Regions from separate parts of the Homo sapiens genome. Here regions 1, 2 and 3 are each linked to region 4. Evidence: promoter capture Hi-C in human tissues and cell types (Jung and others, 2019). All regions are on one chromosome and are shown on one strand. The core of a region is centred on a gene start or on the middle of the fragment in contact, and the rest is flanking DNA. Distances in the headings are between cores, read along the strand shown. Region 1 holds the start of TMOD1 (tropomodulin 1). Region 2 holds the start of LOC286359 (a long non-coding RNA gene). Region 3 overlaps TDRD7 (tudor domain containing 7). Region 4 holds the start of ZNF510 (zinc finger protein 510).

Region 1 (4,745 bases), core at 1,411-3,910, 720 kb before region 4:
CTGAAGAAGTGGAGAACTTCTTCAGCTCCTGTTAGCTCCTGCCTTTCCCCCTCACCACAACGAATACTATCATTGCAATATCAGGCTCTGGGCTGAGGGCTTGCCCTGAATCATCTCACTTAATTCTCACAAGCAGCCCCTATGAAATGGGGCTATTGTTGTCTCCATTGTATGAGGAGAAAACGAGGCTCAGACAGGCTGGGTCACTGGCAGATCTCATTTTTTGAGCCTGCTGCAATACCCTGGTCTAAGTCACTCATGATCCCTGCCAATCCTGATGGTCTTTTCCCAGTCCTCATCCCCCTACTCCTGTCTCTCCACAGCAAGTGACACTGCCCACCTCTGTCCTCCCTTGGCACCTGGGAAAGCCACTGTCTCTCACTCCTTCCCCAGCTCCTCCTTACAGGATGGGTCATGCTAGAAAGGCTTCCAAGGAAGACTCTAAGCCCTCTCCACTCCAGGTCCACTAGAGACCACCTTGTCTGCCCCCTCATTGCTCAAGGTTCCTCTGAGTGGGTGGCAGAGTTGGGGCTGGAGCCAGATATCCTAACCTCCAGGCCAGTCCACCTCCCATTGCTCAGAGCTGCCACACCTACTTTGTGTTTTCTGTTTTTGCTGAGCTGCAAGAAAACGCCCTACCCTGAAGGAGGGAGAAGGTGTGAGACCCTGATAAGGTGGGGCGGAGGCTATTTTTAGAGGACACTGGCTTTCATCTTAGGCTGGGAGAAACTCAAGGGTCAATGACTCTCTAAAACACGGGTTTGTAAGACTAGCTCATTAAAGATAATACACCAAAGTGACAGTATTCTTGTTTTCACTCTGCCTGTTGGTTGTGTGGCTCTAACTGATGGAAACTTTATTATCTGACTCCATTTCCCGTTAATTCTTTTTTCTGTAAGTCTTTGAGATGGCTTTAGAAAAAAACACATAACAGAAAGTAAAGTAGAAGCAAAAAGGAAACTTCAGGATGAGGGCGCTATTGTCCAGACAAGGTAAAGTCCAGAACAGCAGCAGATTCAAGAAGAGGGGGCATTGATCGGGTGCTCCCAGAGCTCCCGGACCTGCCTGAGCAGTGGGAAGGGTGCGGAAAGAGATGGGAAAGGCTGGGAGACTGCAGAACTTCTGGCGTGACCGGCCCTGTGTGACCTTGAGCAGGGGGCTCTGCGGCCCTGCACAGAGGACAAAATGGCAGTCACCTCTGGAAGAAAGATGGGGTGGGGGCCCTAGGGGTTCTCACGCTGAGGGCCCAGCACCTGGGTTCAGGGTCTGGTTCTGCGATTCAGACACGGAGGAGCTTGGGCCAGGTCGTCTCCGAGAGTCTGAGGGCATAGGGCGAGGGCTGGAGACAGGGTCTGTAATAGTAGCGGTGGGTGAAGGGTGTAGGAGGGGGCGGCGCTGCGCAGGTTGGAGGACGCATCATAGGCCCGATATAGACCGGGAAACTGTGGCCAGGGAGCGGCTGTACTGGAACCACTGCCCCTGCCCAGCTCATCGCATCTGAAGCTGCGTGGCTCACAGGCTGCTTTGCCGGCTACGGAGCAGAGAGATGCCCATAGGCACCCCAAAAGTGCACTTCCTAGGGTTGTACGGCTTAGGATATCCGACGGCCTTAGTGAGTCCCAGGATACGATCGAGTCTGGGGCAGTCAGTCTCCGATTTCTGCAGCGTCTCCGCATGTGCGCGGCTGGGACCCCAGCGTCCCAGGCCCGGAGAGGGTGAACAGGTGTGGGGAGCGCAGGCGGCCAAGAGCGCGCCCTGCAGCTCTCAGGGCTTGGGCTCCCAGCTCCATCGCGGCTACCAAACCTCGCCCCTACAAATGGGAGACTGAGATCCAGAAACAAGAGGGGGATTGCCAAGGCCATGCCGAGAGCCGGCGACAACCTGGGGCTCCCGCCTCCAAGCTCTTTCCAGCTCCACTTGGCCGCGTAGCGCGTGTCGTGGTGCTTTAAACCTTGTCTCTCCCAGTTTGGGAAACTTCACCTGCCCCAAACACTCTCAGCGCGAACCTGGGATCCACGTCCAGTCGAGCCTTTACTCCCCCACTCCCACCCCCAGACTCTTGCAGGCGGAGAAGAGGCCGCGCCCCCGAGCCCAGCTCCGGCTGGCACCTGTACCCAGCTGAGCACCCCGCGGGCTCAGAGCCCCGCCGCGCTGGAGTCCTGCGGGTGGCGGGGGCGCCCCTCCGCCAGGACCCCAGCCCGGGGCGCCGTCTCCTCCAGAACCCCGGGTCCTTCTCGCGTTCACAGACGCGGTGCGGAGGTCCAGAGCGGAGGGCGCCCTGGCCAGGGCTGCGCGCGCGGGGAGGCGGGGACGGGAGCGCTGGGCTCGGAACCCCGAGACCCGGGCTCCCTAGCCCCAGAGGCAACCCGAGGCGGCAGCTATTTATAGAGGGAGCCACGCTCAGTCCCTCTTGGCGGCGGCGGCGACAGCTGAATATTTTGCCCAGATATGGCTGAGGCCCCGGAGCGGGGGCAGGGAGCCCCGCGAGCGCGAGGGGGACCCCAGGCGGGGTGGGGGCTTACCCGGACGCAGAGCTGTGGGGCCGGCGCGGACGCGGGCTGCGGAACAGGCGCGGGCGGCGGGCAGATGGACGCGGGCGGAGGCCGCGGTGCTCCGGCGGGCAGCGGGCGGGCGAGCGCAGCGCGGGGCTGGACGAGCTCCCGGGCGGCCGCGGGCGGGCGGGAGCTGTGGGCTCGGGGGTGGGAGCCAGGGGCGGGCCCGGCTCGGCTGTCACCGCGCCCCGCCCCGCCCGCCGCCGGCTCCCTCCTTCCCCCCCCCTCCACTCGGGGGCGCCCGGGCGCAGCGCACTTCCCCGTCGGGACGCGGCCCTGGGCCGGGAGCGCAGGGGAGTCGGGCTGCAGCCGAGCGAGCGCGGGCCCCTGCCTGGGTCTCCTCCGCTTCCCCGCTGGTACCAGGAAGAGTTTGAGCGACGGTAGAGTTATGTGGGAAAAGGTGGGCAGATTTGCATTCCTGTGGGGTTTAGAATTTAAGATTTTGAGAATCTGAAGTCCCCAGAAGTGATGGACCAAAGCCAGCTAAGCAGCTGCTGCACCTTCACCTCTGATTGAAGCGCCGCTCCGTCCGTTTCCCAGCAGCGCGGCCAGGTGGGCTCTGAGCCGCAAGCTTTAACCGCGATCGTTTTGTCTACACGTAGTTCCAACACGCAATCGAATACATTCTCTCTACACTGAGAGCGAGTGGAGTGTCTAAAATACTGATTTTAAATGACCACAACAAAAAGACCCAAGTTCTTAAAAGGCTTTTTTTTTTTTTTTTTTTTTTCAGAACAAACCACTTTAGGTGGTTTATTCCAAATACAATTTTAAGTGTTTTAATAAACAAATGTCTCATGCAAAGGAATTTATATAGAAATAGGAAAACGTCTTATTTTGGATTATTATGGGAAAGCTTTTGGTAGGGTAGACCTTAATAAAATCAGCTCTTAATCCTGATGTATAGATTATTAATGAGAAACACTCATTAACCAAATTTTGTTTCTCAAGAAAATGAATTTCTCTAAAGTCCTCACAATGAGAACGCTCTTTTCAAGGGGTATATGCCATACATTTAAAAATAAGCAGTGATCTAATATTTCAGATTATTTTAAAACATTTTTGTTGTGAATCGAACATATAAGAACATACAACATAAGTTATGTTGTATGTGTAAACAAAATAAATGTGCAGCTTCATGACTTTTTACAACGTGAACACCTGTGCAACCAGTCACTCAGAGAACATTGCCTACAGCCCAGAAGCCAACCTGTCCCTCCTGGGTCCCAACTCCCTTCTAAAGATGATCACTTTCTTGACCCTTACGGTGATCATGTCCTTGTTTTTTTTCTTCCCTCTGTAGTATGTCTTCATTTGTTCAAATCTGTTGTTAATCTGTGGTTTTATGCAGCTGTAGTTTTTCACTGTATGAATATGCCACAGTTTAAAAAAAAATCCATTTGACTATTAATGGGCATTTAGGTTGTTTCCAGGTTTTAGCTATTACAAATAGTGCTGCTGCGAACATTCCTTGCCAGAATCCTCCTGTCCACGCGCACAGCCTGCTGTTGGAAGTGCTGGGTGATAGAGAAAGCCTAACCTCAACTTCGGCAGAGATAAGCCTGAACTCTTCCAAAGTTATAGTACCATTGTACAGTGCAGTTTCCCATCTTCAACAACACTTGAAGTTACAAAAATTGAAACACTTTAGAAATTCTGATATGTGAGTAATGGTATCTCATTGAGGTTCAAACTTGCATTTCCCTATATCCTAATGTGTTGAGTATCACTTCATATTTATTGGCCAGTTGGATTTGTTTTGTGAATTGTTCAGATTTATTGTCCATTTTTCTTCTGGATAGTCCTGTGTATTGAATAGATTCAATGGTGTGTGTATCCTCAGTTATATTCCACTCTTTTGCCTTTTCACCTTATTAACGTATTTTGATAAACAGGTGTTCTTAAATACAGTCTGGCAATCTTTTCCCTTATTGGCAGCACTCTGTGTCCTGTTTAAGAACTCTTTCCTGTTCCTGGGTTATAAAGTTATCTTCCTATGTTATCTTCCCACCTTAGCCTTTCATGTTTAGGTTTTTTGTTTGTTTGTTTTTGTTTTTGTTTTTGAGATAGAGTCTTGCGCTTTGTTGGCCAGGCTGGAGTAAAGTGGTGTGATCACGGCTCATTGCAGCCTCAACCTCCTGGGCTCAAGCCAACCCCTTAACCCCCACATCAGCCCCTCAAAGTGCTGGGATT
Region 2 (4,287 bases), core at 1,223-3,722, 620 kb before region 4:
ACAGGGCCCCTTGAGCATGCCTGGCCATGGGCACTAGGCCTGGCTGTTATATGTGGTGTCCCTCAGCATCTGCCCGAGTTAGGGAGGCTTCTTCACCATATGCACCTGAGCCACCCCACCCTGACACCCCGTCCTGTATTGATGGAACTTGACGCTGCATCCTCACTGAGCACACTGAGGCAGTTTCACACCCATCCCCTCATTGTGCATTTGGGAAACCGAATTCCAGAAAGAGACAGGGCCTGGCTTAGACCACAGAAAATGCACAGAGTCTAAAAGGTAAGGGAGGGCTCCAGCTTCCTAGGCCAGTGCTGAGCCTCCTCCCAGAGGGAAAGAAGAAAGAGGTTGGAGGCAGCTCTGTTATGAGTCAGTGGCATCGGCAACATGCTCAGGAACCCAGGGCATGAGCAGGGCAGACATAGGGCTCCCTAAGGGCCCCAGCACAGCCTTGAGAGGCCAGGGCCGGGGTCCTCAGGCCATTGGTCTGGGCACCTGGAAGTAGGATGAGCCCTCCCTGCTAGTGCGGACAGAGACTATGGGAGAGAAAGCCTCCGTTTCCTCCTGTATTAATTGGGGTGCTTGGGTGAGTGACCCCAAGGGTTCCACATACTCAGAAAGTGTCTGTTGATATGGCTTATCCATCAGTGCCCATTGTGCTCTGAGACCCTGGGAAAATGCTCTCCACTCCCTGGACATCATTCAGAGCAGAGTTAGGTTTGGGGCTTGGGTGATGAGGGCTTGCTATAGGGCAGAGGGTGCCAGAGCGTCGGACACCGTGTCTGTGGTCCAGGAACGAGGCTGATCCTTGTTGGATCCTGAGTCTGCATTTGGAAGTAGGGGGAAGCATTGTCCTGGCCGAGATAAGGATGCTTGACGCCAAAGGAAGTGGAGGCAAAAAGGGGTCAAGGGAGGCTTCCGAGGTTCCTCACACTGCCCTTTGGAGCCTGCGGACCTGCTCCTTTGCCCCCTGGAGACCCCCAAAAAACCACTGCCTTGAGGTCAGCCAGCCGGAGTGTGTGACTTAAGTCGAGGCGCTCTGGCCTGGGGCTGCAGTGCTACGGCTGGCCACCAGGAGGCGGTCAGCCTCCTGTGTCCGCGGTGCCTACTCTGCTTTACCAGCAACTGGTGCCAGGGAAAAGTCACGCAGAGGTCACGCCTGCCGTCCTCCTTCCTCAGGTCTGACTCACACCTTTTATTTGCATTGATCATCTCCACAGTCTTAGCTGGTCAGAAGGTGGGGAGGTGGAAAGTCTGCGATCCTCCCATTTATTCATGCAGCAACTACGCCTGAGCACTCACCCTGTGCAGGTGCCCCAGTGGGCCCAGCATGCTGTGCTGAGATCAGCCAAGTGGTCCCTGCTCTCCAGGAGCTCACAGTCTGGAGGGGGAGATGGACAAAGGCATGTGAAAGAAAAGAGCAAGTGCTGTAGAGAAAATGAAGTCGAGTGCTGAGAGGTGGGCCTGGGAAGTCACTGGGTGGGCCTCAGAGGGGCCTTACTTTTATGCTGTGAGCAGAAGGACCAGAGGGAGCCAGCCCTGCACACATTTGGGAACAATGTGTCAAGGAGAAGGCACCACTGAAGCAGAGACTCCCAAACAGAGGTGGGTTTGGCAGAGGAGGTTAGAAAGAGCAAGTGTGTAGGCTGGGTGTGGTGGCTCATGCCTGTAATCCCAGCACTTTGGGAGGCCGAGGCAGGTGGATCACCTGAGTTCAGGAGTTTGAGGCCAGCCTGGCCAACATGGTGAAACCCCATTTCTACTAAAAGTACAAAAATTAGCCAGGTGTGGTAGTGTACACCTGTAATCCCAGCTACTTGGGAGGCTGAGGCAGGAGAATTGCTTAAACTTGGGAGGTGGAGGTTGCAGTGAGCTGAGATCGTGCCTCTGCACTCCAGCCTGGGCAACAGAGTGAGACTCTGTCTCAAAATAAATAAATAAATAAATAAGAAGAAGAAGAAAGAAGAGAAAGAGCCAGTGTGGCTTGGGGAGTGTGGCTTGGGGGAGCCCTGGAGGGAGGATGGGAGAGGAGGGAAATGATGGCAGGGCCAGATCCTGGGGCCTGGTAGACTAGGTGAGTTACCCATTCTTCTCACAACATTAGCAATGTGAAAGTACAAATATTTAATATCTCACAGTCTGTGGATCAGTAACCTGGGCATGGCTTACCTGGGTGCCTCTGCCTGAAGGTCTCCCATGAAGCTGGGACTGTGGTCTCAACCGAGGCTGGGCTGTGGGAAGAGCTGCTCCCAAGCTCACTCATGTAGGTATTGGCAGAACCAGTTTGGACTAAGCCTGAGTTCCTTTCTGTCTGTTGGCCTGGATGTTCCCCAGTTCTTTGCCATGTGGGCCTCTATGTCGGGTAGCTCCTGACATGAAAGCTTGCTTCCTCAGTTAGAGGACTGTGACAGAGGCAGCGAGAGGAGGAGGGACAGAGAAGGACAAGGAAAGGGAGGGAGAAACACAGGAGACAGCAAGTACGAGGGAATTGGTGCTTTTTTTGTAACTAAATATTGGAAGTTGCAATGGATTGAATGTTTACGTCCCCCAAAAGTCATGTGTTGTTAGCCAAATTCCCAATGTGATAATATTAGGAGGTGGGGACTTTGTGAGATAATTAGCTCATAAAGGTGGAGCCCTCATGAATGGGATTAGTGCCCTTTTCAAAGGGACCCCAGGGAGCTCCGTCACCCTTTTTCAACCATCTGAGGACACAACAAGAAGCTGGCAGTCTGCAACCCTGAAGAGGGACCTCGGCAAAACTGGACCATGCTGATACCCTGATTTCAGACTTCCAGCCTCCAGAACTGCAAGGAATACATTTCTGTTATTGGTGAGCCACCCTGTCTGTGGCACTTTCTTATAGCAGCCCTAACTGACTCAGACAGGAGAGACAACCCGTCACTTTGCTGTATACTCTTAGTCAGAAGGGGAGTCAGTAACCACTTTATGGTTAAACAAGGGCATGAATCCCAGCAGTGAGGTTCATTGCAAGCTGCTGTGCATGCATGCAGACTACCACATAGGCTGGGATGAGACACCTAGGTCTGATTCTAAATATAACAGGAAACCACTGGAAGGCTTTATGCCACAGGATGACCATATACCAGTTTCATTTTATGTTAACTCTCTCATGGTGCAGAATGAGAAATGAGGCCCAGAGTGGAAGTAACTTTTCCAATATTACACTGTTGGAACCCGGGCATGTCTTCAGTTTAAGTCCGTGCTGCATCCCATCTATCCTTATAATTCTTCCTTCTCTTGAGTTTGTGCATTTGTTACTTGTGACACCAACCTATGAGTGTTATGAGAATTATCTCATGTATGCCTGATGATGTCTCTGGGAAGCAGATGCTGGGATGATTTGCATTGTGCAGGTTAGGGGACTGGAGAGGCTCTGAGAGGTACAGTGAGTTTTCCAGGGCACAGAACTGGTAAGAAAAAGAAGGGTTGGAACCCAGCTGTATCTCCTCAAACCTAGGGCCCTCGCTGCATTTGGGTTTTCCCAGAGGGGGGATGTTGGCAAAATTGTGAACAGTTAAGGAGATGACATAGAGGAGGAGGGTGAGCAGTCAATGGCTCAGAGAGACCTTTGGGGAGGGAGCTCTTTGAAGGAAGGAGCCGAGGTAATGGAACCTTAGAGAAGTGACCTAACTTCCTTGGTGATAGGCCCCAACAGAACTTAGAACTTTGATAACCAGCACTCACATTCTAGAGACCCCCTGTCCAGCTCACTCGATGGGAGCCACTAGAGGGAATAAGATGTTCTCCTGCTGTATCCCGACTTTCTGAGGCTCTGACTCCAGGAAAGCCCGGCACGAGGGCCTTTTCCATTGCTGCAGGCTTTTTGGCTCAGCACTCACTTTTGGCACCTCTGGCCATTTGGCAGGAAGTACCCAAAGGTAACACAGAGAAGTCCGGGCCAGGCCACAACTGTGATCCCACCTGGGCAGCCCCACACCCCTCTCCATCGCCGTGTGTGTGGAGGGAGGCAGTGGAGGGAAGGCAAGGGATGAGCGTTGGGCCCTTCCTGGGCTGGAGCAGGTTGTTGGGTGTTGGAACCCTGGTGGGCCTGGCAAGATGGGAAGGTGAGTGCTGGGTGAAGGACATTTCCCCAGATGTTATCCTGTGCTCCTGAGACTTCAGCTCATTTCCTCTATGCAGTTGCCTACCTGTGCCTTATCTGGGGAGCAGAATTTCTAATGTGAGTTTCCCGCTGCGGTGATGGCCAGGCAGGGCCCTGATGTCTGATGATCTGGCTGCCGAGCATCATTTGTGCAGAGCTCCATG
Region 3 (4,327 bases), core at 1,419-3,918, 660 kb before region 4:
GAAAATGCCTATGTAAAAGTAATTCATGTAAACAAAAATCATATTGTTCAATTAATTTCCATTAAGAAATACTGGAGATGTGTTCTTATAAAAAAAAAAGCATTTCAACTAAGTAAGAATCACACTTAAAGCAGCAAATAATGTAAAATCACATTTACATTTCACACACTATAAGCACTGATACGAAAACACTGTCTCCCTGGGTGGGTCTATGAGCAGGGGATTTACACATTGGTTGGAGAAGAAAAGATAACAAGTGGTTGCATTTCTAACCTTCAGATTCTTTGACTTATACTATGTCTCCTATTGTTTTCCTAACAGCCCACTTGGATTCTATTACCCAAAGAATTATTTATATTCATATTTAGATGATTAGTGGTAACTGTACACAGTTTAGGGTGCTAGCTTTTAAGTGGTGGAGTATCTGAAACTCTTTTATAAATTTAAGTCCCATATTTATGCACTTTTAATCCACAGCAGATGTTTCCTTTATGTGAGGCCTCAGCCTCTGAAGTCTCAGGGGTGCACCCCCTAAGAGGTGAGAGAGTAAGGGACACAAGCATCTCTGCAGGCCACACATAGAGGTGACACAGAGTAGGGCTGGGGTGAGGAAGGCCTCAAGTCAGTGTTTAGATAATGATATCTTTGGGAGGCACCATTTTCTCTTAAGATCACTTTGATTCATGATGCAAAGCAATTAGGAAAAAGGGGAGGAAGGATATATTCCAAACAGGAGAAGGTGAGAGCAAATGTCAAAAGCCACCACCAGATATGTTTCTTGACTCCGGAAGCCAATATGTATCTCAAAAATGTTTGGAAAACATACCACTCATTTCCTTAGTAGAGGTTCTTGAGAGATGCATCTGCAAAGGTGGTTGAAGGGACGCCTTTGGGCTAAACCTAAGATATTAAAAAAAAAAAAAGTAAAATAAATGTAAATAACAAAGTCTATACCAAGTTTTAAACACTACACTTTTCATTTAAAGTCTCAGTGGCATTTAACAGCAAAACAAGTCATTAAAATAATTTAAAATCAGAAAAAATAAAAATAAAACCTGGCATCATCTTTCATGTTTCATATTCACTCAGAGAAAAGTATGTTAAAAGCTAAATTTAAACTAGGTCTTTGAAAGCCTCTTTCAAAACTTGGATGTCAGAATTCCAATTAATCACTTATAAGAAACTGGTAAAACAGAATAAAGAAGACCATGCAAAAATAAACAGTTGGAAACAAAGAACATTTTGGAATATAACCAAAAAATGAAGGACTTGCATCACCAGATGTTGAAATGCATTATGAAGTTACAACACTTAAATGAGTTGTACAGACAGGTAAAATGGTAGAGAACTTAGAAACATGCAATTTGCATTATATCTTGGTACATAATGAAAGTGGCATTTCAAAACAGACAGGTGAGGGACTGGTCAAATAACTATTTGAAAAAAAGAAATAGATCCCTACCTCATACCCTCACTAAAAATAAATTTTATATAAATTATACTGGATATATGTAGGAAGATTTTTCCAAATATGAAGACACATAAATAAACCCCACACACATCATTTATATTCATGTCTGTTTCCCACACTAGACTCTAAGTGTCTTAATTGTTTGTGTTCCCAAGTGCCTGGGGCAGAGCTTGATACATGCAAGGCAAATGAATATTGTAAGAATGACTGAATGAATCATGACCGAATGAATAAATGACTACAACCTGCCCAGCAGTGGGTACGGGACTATAGTGAGTGATAGTGACATGGTACACATAGCTGCCAGTTTTTGAATAGTATGGAACAGTCTAAAAATTAGATCAATTCCTTGAAATGAAGCACATTTTCTTATAAAATTTTAATTCTAAAAGAAATGATTAGGTTCTAGGCTACCAATAAAAACTTATTTGGTATATGCAATTATAAGATCATCCTATTTCTATATTAATATATCTGTGTAATAGCAGAAGATGCCAAAAATATATCCAACTCCTATTTTGCAGAACTGGTAGGGAGATAGTACTCCTTCCCGCACACCAGCCCAAAACATGTAAACTGGAAGCTTCCCCTGCTTTAAACAAGCATCGAAGGCTCCAGTAGAAGGTAGAGGGATATGAGCAAAGAGTGAGTACACAGAAACTATGGAAGGGACTGTTATGGTTCAGTCATCAAGAGGTCTACTGGAGAGGAAAGAAAAAAGTGTATATAGCAAAAGAAAGCTCTTCAAAGAAAACTGCTAGGATGCATGAAAAACAGACATAATAAAATAAGATGACAGAGGTCTAAGCAGTTTTATAACACTAAGAATAAAATATATTGTCTCTTAAAAGACAAAGAGTTAGACTGGTCCAGAAAAAAACCTTCCAAATCTAAACATATGTTGTTTATTAGAGACATATTTATAGCTCATAAATATTTAAGACATACTATGTGCCAGACATTATGTCAGACAGTAACTGTCAATGATCAGCAAGATAAACATGCCCTATTCTCTGGGACTACACGGTATAGTTGAGAAACGGACCGTGGTAAGTAGCTGCTGAGATAACCCCAAAGATTCTTCCCTCCAGGTATTCACAGCCTTGTGTAATCCCTTCCCCTTGAGTAACCTGCTTCTAATCAATAGAAGACTTCAAGGCTGAAGGGATCACAAATAACTAGATTACAGAAGATTCTAATTTCAACTTTGCTAGTATAATCTCTCCTTTGTTGCTTTGATGAAGCAAATGGCCATGTTGGGAAGAACCATGTGGCAAGAAACTGAAGATGGCCTTTGGCCAATAGCCACCTAGGGACTAATGAACAACTCAGAAGGAAGTACACTGTGCCAATAACCATGTGAGTAGGACTGAAAGCAGATTTATCTTTAACTGAGCCTTCAGATAAGATCCCAGCCATGGCTGACACCTTGACAGCAGCCTCATGAGAGACCCTGAAGCAGAGGACCCAGCTTGACCGTGTCTTCCTTCCTGACCCACAGAAACTATGAGGTAAGAAAATGTGTCTTGTTGTAAGCTAATAACTTTGGGGTAATCTGTAACACAGCAATAGATAATTAATGCATTGACAAAATCTAAGAACAAAGTCTACTAAGTGTTATGATAAGGGCAGTAGGTATAATAAAAGCACACAATGGAACTAATAAACCAAATTAGGAGATAGAGGAGGAAGTAGAGAGTAAAGGTTATTAGCACTTATTATGAAGTTATAATAATGTGAATAGCCTGGTACTGCAGAATAGGGAGGTAATCAATTATTCTGAATGGAAAGCCCAGGAACTGAACCATATGTTTATAAGGCTTTAGTACTGGTAAAGATAGAATTACAAACCAGCAGAGAAAGAAAGGATTGTGTAATGACTGATACAGGACATCTGGCTAACAATAAAAAAGGATTCCAACTCTCACACTATAAAATAAAATAAATTCTGGATGAATTAAAGACTAAAATGTAAAAAATGAAGCCACAACAATTACAAAAGAAAACAGAAGACATATTACATAATATTGAGTGGAAATGCTTTTCTAAACATAATACCTAAAAGCAGAAGTCACATAGTAAAAGATCGATAGCTATAAGCATGCAACATTTTAAAGTTTTTGTATACAAAAAATACAATAATTAAACAAACTGAGGGAATACTGTCAAGATATTACAAAGGGCCAACTTATTTAATTTATAAACCACTTTTATATGTTAGAAGGAAAAGAGCCAATAGAAAAATTATGTAAAGGACAAAGACATGTAATTCACATAAGACCTATAATGGGCTAAAAAATATATGACAAAAATGTAACTCCCTTAAGAATCAAAATCAGGGAAATAAAAATTAAAACATAAATAGATTTTTTTCACTTTTCAAAGTAGCAAAGCAAAAAACAGATGCCCAATATTGGCAGGCATACAAGAAAATAATCACTCTCATATTCTTCTAGAAGAAAACAAATTATTATAATCTGTTTAGAGAACAATTTAATAGGAGCCTTAGTACATATACCCTCTTCCCCACACATTTTATCTCTACTAATTTATTCTACAGGAAACTAGCCATGCCATTTTTCTAGAACTTTTCAATTTGTTAACAGGCAGGCATGAGTTCTTAACCGGAACTCTTGAGAATGAGCTTTGGGGGTTCATGAATCTACTGACTGGCACGAGATTATGTATGCATATGTAAATGTACATGTGTGAATTTTTCTGGGAAGATCATTTACAGCTTTCATCAGCTTTTCAAGAGGTTTGGTGACCTCAAAAAGTTTAAGTGTCCTTCATAACAGGTTTAACTGCTTTTTACTACATTAATATTTCATAAGTAGATATAGATGTTTCTGCTAT
Region 4 (4,562 bases), core at 740-3,239:
TTTGGGCACCAGGCAAGGTCTCAGCCTTCAGACAGATGTGAAGGGCGAGACTTTCCTTGGAAAGGAATTAAAGGGTTTATCTTTTTAAAACACCTGTTTCTCTTAAAAACTTAAGAAATGTATAATTTAAAAATTTAAAACTTTGATATTATTAATTGCTTATTGTTGAATGAATCCTTGTGAAAATTATTGATTGTAATGTTAGTGCCATGGATATGTCCTTTGTCCCAGCACCTATCTCATTGTCCTAACAAGGTTACTGAAGGTTCTCTTTCCACTGCTTTAAAAGCCAGCTGATACATACTACATTCTTTCTTTTTCATATAGTTGAACTTTTACTGCACCAGGATAAATTTTTAAATATTTAGTGATAGTATACATAGTAAATATAGAGATATTGCTATGCATTTTCAATTCTTTTCTGATCATTACCATAAGTTTTTATTAGAATGAAAATTGGAATAGTTCCTTTAGGAAAACAGGCAAAATATATAAATGTCAAAAAAAGAAAATATATACTTAGAAAACATAGATGATTAGAATTTTTAAAAACAAATGTTAGTCTTTTCCTCCAGTATCTATTAAAGTGTTTTTCAGTGTCAACAGTAAAATTTTATACCTTGATTCATATATACTGCACTAGTTTACTGTTGCCATTAATCTTTTTTCTTGCTAATCAAAACTTATCATTGCCATATAAAATAACCTGTTAGAAAGTATCAACCGTGTGTGTGTGAGTGTATGTGTGTTACTAAAAAGAGTGTCATAAAATACTGTGCTGAGAGGTTCCTAATTTGGTTCCTGATTTCAGAAGCATACCACATAAGATTTAAGCAAGCTCATCTCTAGGAGATGCATAATTTGTGGATAACGGTTTTCTTAGTTGGGATTGTGTGTACTTCAGGTATTATGTAATGCTGAACAGCTTACTTGCTTTTTCTTTTTTTCCCCCCAGAGATAAACTGAGGATCACAAATATTATTCTTTTATGTTAATAATGGTTTCCATTTTCTAGTATTTGTTACATTTTACGGCTTTATTCACAAAGCTGTTTATGTATTTTTGTGGCAGCTCTAAGTTAAAAGGCACACTTGTAACATTACAGTCCCAATTTTCCCTTTATCAACTTTATATTATAAAATTTTCCAACACATAGTCAATAAGCATGTCCATATTCTAGAAGTAGATATTCTTAACATTTTGCCATACTTCCCATTTCTAATTATTTTTTAAAAAGAACTTACAAACGGGCCGGGAGTGGTAGCTCACGCCTGTATACCCAGCACTTTGGGAGGCCAAGGCAGGCGGATCACTTGAGGTGAGGAGTTCGAGACCAGCCTGGCCAACATGGTGAAACCCCGTCTCTACTAAAAATACAAAAATTAGCTGGGCGTAGTGGCGGGCGCCTGTAGTCCCAGCTACTTGGGAGGCTGAGGCAGGAGAATCGCTTGAACCCGGGAGGCGGAGGTTGCAGTTAGCCGAGATCGCGCCACTGCACTCCAGCCTGGGCGACAGAGTAAGACTCCGTCTCAAAAAAAAAAAAAAAAACCAAAAAACCCAAAAACTTACAAACATAATACAATCCTAAATACTTACATAGACATCTCTTTATGAATAAGCAAGATTACCTACATAATCCCAATGCTGCCACAATTAATTAATAATTCTAATTTCCAGTCCGTATACAAATTTTCCCAATTGTTTTCAAACGTCTTCCGCGGCTCTTGCTTTCTGTAACCACACGCTGCATTTGCTGTTATGTCATCAAGTCTAACCCACAACCTCTGGGGCTCTGACAGAACCCGGGCTCCAGTTATCAGGACGGTCCATGTTATTACGCCATAAATCTTGGGGGAAAAACAAACAAAAAAACACTGACAGCTGGCGCCGTACTGCATGTGAAACGTAGTCTTGCATGTTATGGGTTACCGCGCAGCATGCTGGGAACGGATATGCGCGTTTTCGTCTGCGCATGTGCAGTCAACCCCACTTTCCGGCTTCTCCCTGTTAGTGTTTGCTGGTGCAGAGGGTTCGCAGCTCAGGTGAGAGCGCCGGGCCTCCACGCGGATTGCGGACCTGCAGGGAGGGATGTGCTAGTGTCCAGGGGGCGGGAACGCGACGTCCCGGGAACTCCCCCAAAGCAGGCCGTCGCTCCCTGTGCCTCGGCCGGCCCGGGACCTCAGCCTGAGAAGGGCCGGTGGGGGCGGGCTCCGGGGGCGTTAGGTGGGGCTGAGTCCTAGTTGGAAGATGCTCGGTGCGGGCCGAGGTATGGGCGCCAGAATGCAGCCAGGCGTCGGAAAACGCGGTGCTGGCTTCAGGAGGGGAATGCGCGTTTATTGTATTGACCATGAACCTGCCACAAAGCGCGTACAGCCCGTGGGTCTGCGGTGAGAGGCCGAGCCTAGGAGCTAGAAGGACCTCGTGAATTTTGGCTCTGTCACTTGAGCGTTTGAAAATGAGGATATTAGTAAAAACTGCTTTGTGTCGTTCAGAGGTAAGCCATCCCCTGTAAAGCATTTAGCTAAGCGCTAGTTACTAAGCAGCATGTAAATGTTGATTCCCGTTATATTTGGAAGACACTTTGTTCTTTTCATGTAGTATTTCGTTTAATTCTCACAACCACCCTATTTATATCATTAAAAATGAAGAAGGAGGAGTGAAAAGATAGAGCCAAGCTCACAAAGGATGAGAGAGCTAGGATGTCAATACATAAACACTTTACTCCCCGAATCAGGCTGTTTGTAATGGCCTACCTACCTAACCCAGCATTGCAGCCTTCACAGCACTGAGTGATTGTCCCCAAAACCCCAGGACAATGATTGTGAAGTCAGTGTGGACAGAATCTTACTATGTGGCAAGTGTATTTGTTGTGGGGTTTCTGGGATGTCTCCAGAGCCTCTGGGTTAGACTGAGGCCCCTGCCACCTCCTGTGCTGTCCCTCCTGTCTCTGTCTTTAGAAGTCAGTCTGATATTCTAGGGCAGTGAAGATGAGTCACATACGTAATTTTAAATGTTAAACTAGTAGCTACATGAAAATCTAAAACATGAAATTAATTTTAAGAACATACTGTGGTTTTCTCAGTGTATCCAAAATGTTATTTCAACATGTGGTCCTAGCCACATTTCCAGTGCTCAGTAGTTGATGTGATTGGAGGCTGTAGTCATGGATAGCAGGGTTCTAATTAATGCCAAGAGAATCAGGTTTAAGGCCTTAGGTCACTTCTTCACCAGGAGGATTTTGCTCCCTAGGGAACTTTGGAAATGTTGGAGACTTTTTTGGTGGGGGGAGAGGGGACTGAGTTTCTCTCTGTCGCCCAGGCTGGAGGGCAGTGGTGTGATCTTGGCTCACTGCAACCTCCACCTCCCAGGTTCAACTGATTCTCCTGCCCCAGCCTCCCAGCTTGTAATCTCAGCTGGAATTACAAGCATGCATGGCCATGCCCAGCTAATTTTTTGTATTTTTAGTAGAGGTGGGGTTTCACCATATTGGCCAGGCTTATCTTGAACTCCTGACCTCAGGTGATCCACCTGCCTTGGCCTCCCACAGTCCTGGGATTACAGGCGTGAGCCACCACGCCCGGCCTGGAGACGTTTCTGATTGTCACAACAGGGAGAAGGGGTGTCCTAGTGTCTAGTGCATGTTTAGAAATGCTCTTAAACATCCTGCAATGCACAGGACCACTCCTTATGTCAGAGGATTATCCAGCCCAAAATGGAAGTTGTGCTGACGTGAAGAACACTGTTTTCCATGAAAGTTTCAACTAAAATAAATTTGTTACCCAGGCATCAGCCCCAGCTTCTCTGGAGCAAAGCAGCTCTTTATGTTGCAGGAAGGAGGGAGCCCCAGGAACAGGAGTCCCACCGAAGAACTGCTCTCTGACAGAACAGAGACCTCCTCACCAGGGCTTCCAAACAGATGCAGAAGAACCCAGAAAGGAGCAGGTCTTGATTTGCCCAACCAGCGGCACTTCTTCATCCCCTTGCCCAGAGAGCACCAGACTTGGTGATGTCGCCACATCCAGAAGCCATCACAGATTGTGTGACACTGAACACTGTGGGCCAACTTGCAGAAGGTGGTAAGCTGGGGTTGAGAGGCGTGGGTGACTGTCAGACTGCACAGGAAAAGCCACATTACTGGAGGGCTTTTCTCCATGGTCTCCAAGGAAGGCATAACCAGCCAGGGCTGAGGAAATTGTCTCTAATCCTCCTCATAGAGCCCCCATTTTCTTCATTCTTGCCTCACTCTTTCCAGATTCTGAGTCACTCTCACACAACATCCATCACATGTAGCATCTAGAAATTTACTAAGGTTGCCTCTATCCTGAACCTGTAGAATCACAAAAATGATAATACAGGAAAGGATTTCTATTTCTGACTCTTAAAACCTTAAAAAGTATTGAACCTAGGATGAACAGTTTGTCCATGGTCACTCAGGACAGAGCTTGGAGCAAAGCACAGTGCTGTTCACTCTGTCACAGGTGAGTCACCAGAAGTGTCTTATCGAAAGTCTTTTGAGAAACTATAAGTTAGAACAAAAATATTTTAAAATAGTCTTTCAGCAT

Evidence for each region. The method cuts DNA at HindIII sites, captures the fragments that hold promoters and counts their contacts. A contact is called where the count stands out against the background at its distance.
Region 1: a contact is called between the fragment with the promoter of TMOD1 here and the fragment with the promoter of ZNF510 in region 4, in 1 of the 25 tissues and cell types used here (mesenchymal stem cells).
Region 2: a contact is called between a fragment that was not itself captured here and the fragment with the promoter of ZNF510 in region 4, in 3 of the 25 tissues and cell types used here (hippocampus, mesenchymal stem cells and spleen).
Region 3: a contact is called between a fragment that was not itself captured here and the fragment with the promoter of ZNF510 in region 4, in 1 of the 25 tissues and cell types used here (mesenchymal stem cells).

The regions. Positions count from the first base shown.
Region 1 is chr9:97,499,581-97,504,325 of GRCh38, reverse strand. It overlaps TMOD1 (tropomodulin 1), which reads right to left and starts at 2,660. Exons shown (of 10, transcript NM_003275.4): 1 at 2,523-2,660. RefSeq lists a cis regulatory region at 657-674, an enhancer at 593-737 and a silencer at 2,124-2,843. The HindIII fragment of the contact is 3,698 bases long and covers 1,538-4,745 here.
Region 2 is chr9:97,396,109-97,400,395 of GRCh38, reverse strand. LOC286359 (a long non-coding RNA gene) reads left to right here and starts at 3,705. Exons shown (of 6, transcript NR_026847.1): 1 at 3,705-3,899; 2 at 4,220-4,287. RefSeq lists a silencer at 914-1,101. The HindIII fragment of the contact is 3,966 bases long and covers 490-4,287 here.
Region 3 is chr9:97,435,818-97,440,144 of GRCh38, reverse strand. TDRD7 (tudor domain containing 7) reads right to left here. Exons shown (of 17, transcript NM_014290.3): 5 at 827-900. Among named protein-coding and RNA genes, the nearest start is that of TDRD7, 26 kb to the right of the region's middle. The HindIII fragment of the contact is 3,324 bases long and covers 1,007-4,327 here.
Region 4 is chr9:96,775,514-96,780,075 of GRCh38, reverse strand. ZNF510 (zinc finger protein 510) reads left to right here and starts at 1,989. Exons shown (of 6, transcript NM_014930.3): 1 at 1,989-2,042; 2 at 3,831-4,076. The coding sequence starts at 4,007. RefSeq lists a silencer at 2,129-2,228. The HindIII fragment of the contact is 14,118 bases long and covers 1-4,562 here.